Regions from separate parts of the Homo sapiens genome. Here region 2 is linked to region 1. Evidence: promoter capture Hi-C in 16 types of primary human blood cells and fetal thymus (Javierre and others, 2016). All regions are on one chromosome and are shown on one strand. The core of a region is centred on a gene start or on the middle of the fragment in contact, and the rest is flanking DNA. Distances in the headings are between cores, read along the strand shown.

What was found. Contacts are between HindIII fragments. The CHiCAGO score rates a contact against its expected background, and 5 or more counts as called.
Region 2: a fragment that was not itself captured here is called in contact with the fragment with the promoter of ERI2 in region 1 in 1 of 17 cell types (erythroblasts); the score reaches 5.3 in erythroblasts.

Annotation. Positions count from the first base shown.
Region 1 is chr16:20,804,593-20,807,942 of GRCh38, reverse strand. It overlaps ERI2 (ERI1 exoribonuclease family member 2), which reads left to right and starts at 1,471. Exons shown (of 9, transcript NM_001142725.2): 1 at 1,471-1,535. The coding sequence starts at 1,513. It overlaps REXO5 (RNA exonuclease 5), which reads right to left and starts at 1,416. Exons shown (of 20, transcript NM_030941.3): 1 at 1,238-1,416; 2 at 852-991. The coding sequence starts at 989. RefSeq lists enhancers at 612-751, 1,472-1,581, 1,330-2,275. The HindIII fragment of the contact is 22,874 bases long and covers 1-3,350 here.
Region 2 is chr16:22,351,864-22,354,829 of GRCh38, reverse strand. All of the region lies in intron 2 of CDR2 (cerebellar degeneration related protein 2), which reads left to right. Among named protein-coding and RNA genes, the nearest start is that of CDR2, 21 kb to the left of the region's middle. The HindIII fragment of the contact is 554 bases long and covers 1,202-1,755 here.

The DNA.
Region 1 (3,350 bases), core at 222-2,721:
ACAGGCCAGCTGTGGACAGTGGGTTGGGGACCCCATGGACAGGCAGGTACTAGTCTGTGCACAGGGGGTTGGGGACCCCCGCCCTACTGGAATGTAAACTGCACGAGGGCAAGGAATTGTATTTTTGTGCCCCAGGATATCGATGAACATTCCTATTATGTACAGGCAGTTTTTTTTTTGTTTTGTTTTTTGTTTTTTTTTTTTAAGAGATGGGGTCCTTGCTATATTGCCCAGGCTGGTCTTGAATTCCTGGCCTCAAATGATGCTCCCGCCTTGGCCTCCCAAACTGCTGGGATTACAGGCGTGAGCCACTGCACCCGGCCCACCATCCCAGTTTTTTTTTTTTTTTTTTTTTTTCTGAGACGTGATTTCTTTCTTGTTGTCCAGGGTGGAGTGTAATGGCGTGGTCTTGGCTCATTGCAACCTCTGGTTCCTGGGTTCTAGCGATTCTCCTGCCTCAGCCTCCCAAGTAGGTGGGATTACAGTCACCCACTACCACGCCTGGCTAATTTTGTGTGTGTGTTTTTGGTAGAGACGGGGATTTCTCCATGTTGACAAGGCTGGTCTCGAACTCCTGACCTCGTGATCCGCCCGCCTCGGCCTCCCAAAGTGCTGGAATTACAGGCATGAGCCACCGCACTCGGCCGACTCACTATCCCAGTGACAGCCAATGACAGCCTTGTTGCAGGAAGGTGGTATTACACTCATTCCCATTTTAATGATCAGGGATCAGGTTCGGAGAGGCCAGGGCGGAGAGCCCGCCCGAATCCAGTGCCCCCGACGGCGGTTGGGCGAGGGTCCGGGAGCTCCAAACCGCCTAGGGCCGCCTGCTCGGGATCCCCGTTGCTCACCTTGGCCTCGGGCTGACTCTCCTCGAGATCCCAACCGGCTTTCATCGCCTCAGCTGCCCCGACCAGCTTATTTGGGGCCTGCCTGCTTTCCCTGACCTTCCTGGGGTGTCTCTCGGTCCCTTCCCTCTCTGGCTCCATGGCTGTGGAGAAAGATGAGGTAGAGCTGGGGAAACTCCAGCGCCCCTATTCCCCCGCGTGCCGCCTCCTAGCGGGAGAGCTACACGGGCTTGACAGCTTTCAACCTCCCTCGGATCCGCTTCTCAATTCAGTTTACCGAACTATCCCCGTTCCCCTAAAAAAGCGAAGGTGCCAACGATCTCCCCGTTCCGCGGACTGGACACCCGCGCCGCTCTAACCCAAACGGCTTTACCGTCCGCATCGGTTACCGGATTCTCAACGGTTCCCCAACGGCTACAACGGGCGTCTGCCTGGCAAAGAAGGAAGGTGCTGCCGAGCGGCTTCGCCGCCTAAAACCACTCCCCACGCCCCCTAGCCCGGGAAACGCAGAAGAGAAGACGGGCGGGGAGCAGAGGTTCTCCCCTCCTTAGCCACAGCTGCCAACAACAACCGCCCCTCAGCCTCGCGGGCTTTTTGAACGGACCGGAAGTAGAAGTCGAGCGACTTCCGGCAGCTGGACTTGGAAAAGCAAGGAGTGTCGGGAATGGCGACCAAGCGGCTCGCGCGGTACTCGAGGGAGTTCCGGGTCGGGGGCGGGTAGCTCCGGGTCCAGCGCTGGCGTTGGCCGCAGAGCAGGGCACGGCAGGTGGCATCTGCGGTGAGGGCCTCTATTCCCCGCAGCCCCGGCGTCTGCGACCTGCCCTCTCTGGCACGGTTGGAAAGGCGCCTCCCTGGACCTCGGTCTTCAGCCTTGGGCCACCTTCTACCCGAGGGTGACAGGAGCCCGAGGCGGACGAACCCTGGGGCCTTGACTGTGTGGCCTTGAGCCAGTGCCTGCCTATTTTAGGCCTTGGGAAACGACTGGACGTGACAGTGCCCTGCAGACTGGTTGGAGGTCTCAGGCAGGCCACACACTGAATCTGTCAAGGTGTTCAACCTGTTCGAAATGCTCGTTCCTCGGTGCTGTAAAGAAATAGAACTTAAACTTAAATTTAATTTATTTAGTAAGGCCATTTTTACTTCCTGCAGAAAGGGTACACTCGCCAGCAGTTTTGCCAGGAGAGTACACTGAACAAAGGAGACAGGGTCATTTATAACGTGGCGCGTCCACCCTACTGCTGTGTCCGGTTTCCTTTGGCTGGAACGGGACCTCACATTCTGTATTTGTCCCGACTGACTAGCAACATAGAACTTTTTAAAAGAGGCAAAGGCAGAGGAGAACAAAGGAAGAAGGAAGTAACTTGTGGAATGCTGAGAAAGGTAAAAACACTTTTAAGTAAGGAAGAGGAACAGGCTATGACCTAATGTTTGATTGGACCAGTATAAGCATGCCAGGGCAAATATTTAGGCTAAATTGTGGGAGCTAAGAACATAAAGTACATTGATTTCTTTATTATATCTAGCAGATATTTAAGAATGTTAGCACAGGTCTTTGAATAAATTTTGCTCTAAGAGAAGTTACTATTTATTCCTAATTAGACGGGGAAGGAAGTCTTTGAAGAGGAACCTCTACTTTTTACAAACCCATTTTCTAGTGATCTTTTTTTTTTTTTTTGAGACGGAGTTTTGTTGCCTAGGCTAGAGTGCAGTGGTGCGATCTCGGCTTACCATAACCTCTGCCTCCCGGGTTCAAGTCATTCTCCTGCCTCAGCCTCCCAAGTAGCTGGGATTACAGGCATGCACCACCACACCCAGCTAATTTTGTATTTTTAGTAGAAATGGGGTTTCTCTATGTTGGTCAGACTGTTCTCGAACTCCCGACCTCAGGTGATCCACCCGCCTCAACCTCCCAAAGTGCTGGGGTTACAGGTGTGAGCCACGGTGCCTGGCCTAGTGATCCTTTTAATTCACAATATGAATTATTGTGTCCTCCCTGATTCCTGGATGCGCTGTGCATATTTCTGATTACTAGAAAGATGTAATATAATAGCAAATAGCATGAGCTTCAGAATTGGACAGTCTTGGGTTCACATACCAAAGCTATGTTCTTTGGCAAATTAAGAATCAGTTTTCTCATCCATAAAATATAGGTAGGAAAAGTTTCTAGCTACTACACTTGTTGAGGATTAAAGGAGGCCATCATCTTAGTTTAATTTTAGTACCTGCTATGTAGTAAGCAGTCAATAAATGATATTTATTATTCCCAAATCCTGGCACTTCCCACTCTTAGCAAACACAGAAAACTACAGGAGGTGTCTGCCTAGTTAAAACTCTACCTGCTAATACCAAGTAGTTTGTTTTACTTGCACTTAAGACCTCAGTAAGCTCTTCTCTTTTTTTCTTATTTTATTTTATTTATTTATTTTTTTGAGACAGGGTCTCGCTCTGTTGCCCATGCTGGAGTGCAGTGGCATGATCTCGGCTCACTGCAGTCTCCACCTC
Region 2 (2,966 bases), core at 229-2,728, 1.5 Mb before region 1:
CTTTGCCTCCTGGGTTCAAGTGATTCTCATGCCTCAGCCTCCCAAGTAGCTGGGACTACAGGCGTGTGCCACCATGCCTAACTAATTTTTTTTTTTTTTTTTTAAGTAGAGATGGAGTTTCACCATGTTGGCCAGGCTGGTCTCGAACTCCTGTCCTCAAGTGATCCACCCGCCTTGGCCTCCCAAAGTGCTGGGATTACAGGCATGAGCCACCACACCTGGTCCACAATAGAAAGTTTTAAAATGCAGTGGATAAGATTAGCCATCTGTAGAAATTCAGTATTTGTTTGGACTGAGAAGTTAGGAAGGATCACTCAAGCAAGGTTAAGGTAACTAGTTTGTAATTTCAGGGAATTAATGATTGTTAAGAACATACCAAAGTGAAGCGTTATGATGATGAATGCTGCTGTGGTACAGTTAAAATATAACCTAATCTTAGTGGATAACTGCATCTAAGCTGAGCCCTATGCAGGGAGACGGTGAGCATTAAGCTGAAGAGTCATCATTGATCCAGTGAATGCCTGTGTCTCCTAGACCCAAGAGAAAAGGACATTGGTCAGGGCAGGGGACGTCCAGGATTTTCCATGTCCAAGATCAACATTTCTCTAAGTGTGATCTCTGGACTGCCTGTACTAATATCACCTGGGTTTGTTGCTAAAAATGCAGAATCCTGGCTCTACTCCAGTCTCAGCCGTTTGAGGGGAAGGGACCCAGGTTCTTACACTTTAATAAATCTTCTTCCAGGTGAATCTTAGCACATGTAAAGTTTGAAAACTGTAGCTTTAAATAAAGATGACAGTAGCTTCTCCTTATTGAGCAATTTACCATCTGCCAGATCTCATGCTGAGCTCTCTACATATATTAACGTTTTTGTAAATTATATATTTGTATATGTCAGGGAGGAAAAATATTTTTTTCCTCAACCTTCATGAGTGCTTAGTTGGAAAGGACCCCTGCAACAAAAGACAGATTAACAAGAGAAAAACAAGCTTACTAACATATCTATTTCATTTATATGTGTGGGAGATACCCAGGGGATGAGTCATTCTCAGAGGTGGCTTTGAATTCCAGCTTATGTAGTATCTTCAACAAAGAATGGTAATTTTTTAGAGAAGTGACAAGACAAAGGGGAAGAACTTTGTCTAGGGGCAGAACTTGTGGGAAGGCAAGTAAGTGGTGATAAAGGCCCGTTAGCAAAGCTTGTTAGTGTGGATTCCTCTGGTGCTGTCTTCTGGCCCATAAAGGTCTAAAGTTGTTAGTGGTTAACCTTTGTTCTCCCTGGTAGAGAGGGAGGAGGCAGGAACCTTTTTATGCCAAAGACGCATGCTTTGGGGTGACATAGTCCAGTCTCTCCCACACACATATTTATCTTTACAGCCTTATGAAGTAGTTGATGAGGAGAACTCACATTAGAAAAATGTGCTTGCTGTAGGTTACCCAGTTCTAAACAGCAAAGCAAGACCTCAAACCAGGTTCTGACTCCAAAGCCTGTGCTCTTAGCTACTATACCACTGCCTCCCATCAGACTCCTCTGATCCCATGTCTACCAGAGACTCTCATTCATGAATCGGCCTTTCACATGCCCTTTGTGGGGCAGCTGTGTCCTAATAGAGGATGTGAATATTCTTGTCACTGGGCAGGAACAGTTCCTGTTGTATATTAATAAATTAATGTCTGGCTTATGCATTAGCCTTTTTAAAGGTAGTTCTGAGTCCTAAAGAATACTTGATAATTTATACTTGATATAAAGAAGCTTGAAACATTTCTGCAGCTATTATATATATATTCTTGTGATTCTAAGCCTTTTTTCCGCTCCTGTGGAATCTCATCAATTCCTAAGAGATTGAACATGTTCCCATCAATGACAAGAACCTACTATGGAATTACTAGCCCGAGGGCAGGATTAAGGGCCTACTCCTTTAGTTCTGAGAAAGCTTCACGCATGAGAATTAGTGGTTGATTTCCAAAGGACCAGAAGAAGCTGGTGGGAGTTGAGGCAGTGAAGACTACACACAGGCTTTTATAGACCGTGCCATGTGCTCACCTTTCTCATTTAATTCTGCCAGTTCTACATGGTAGGTACTAACAGATCCACTTACTAATTCCGAACTCAAAAAGCTCTATAAAGCAAGATTTTTTTTTTCCCCTTAAATTTGCAACAGATTCATTTGGTAGTAGATCTTTACCTGAACTGATGTGAGGCTGTTTATAGTCTTAGTTCATACTTTTTGATGCAGAAATATTAATGCTTGATTACAGGGTGCTGCCCAGACCTCACAGGTATTATAAGGTGTCAGCTGTGTGTCAGGTATGAGCGCCATGTTGTCTTTCTAAAATTTAAAGAATTTTCCAAAACACTTTTGACTTCAAGAGTTTCAGATGAGAAAGTTGAAGTTAGGTTAAGTGTTTGTTCAACTCTTTGCTGCTGAGTTATGTAAATGGATTTGAAAAAAAAAAAGCCATATATGCTTTTTTCAACACTTTAAGGGCCCGTTGAGTGTCATTTAGCCCATTGTTTGTTAGCCTTGCAAATCCTTCTAGAGTTGTAGAAAAAGCCTCAAGAAGAGTGTGTTGTGTTGTGTTTGAGACAGTCTCTGTCACCCAGGCTGTAGTGCAGTGGCACGATCTCGGTTCACTGCAACGTTCACCTCCCACGTTCAAAAGATTCTCATGCCTCAGCCTCCTGAGTACGTGGGATTACAGGCGCGTGCCACCACGCCGGACTAATTTTTGTATTTTTATTAGAGGTGGGTTTTTGTCATGTTGGCCAGGCTGGTCTTGAACTCCTGGCCTGCCTTAAGCAATCTGCCTGTTTTGGCCTCCCAAAGTGTTGGGATTACAGGTGTGAGCCACCATGCCTGGCCAAGAAGAGTGTTTTTAAAGTCAAGTTCTGAGTCTTTTACAGTTTGATCATCAGTAAGCTTCAAACCATTTCTCCCCTCTTTCTGGTTCTGTCCAGGGAAATA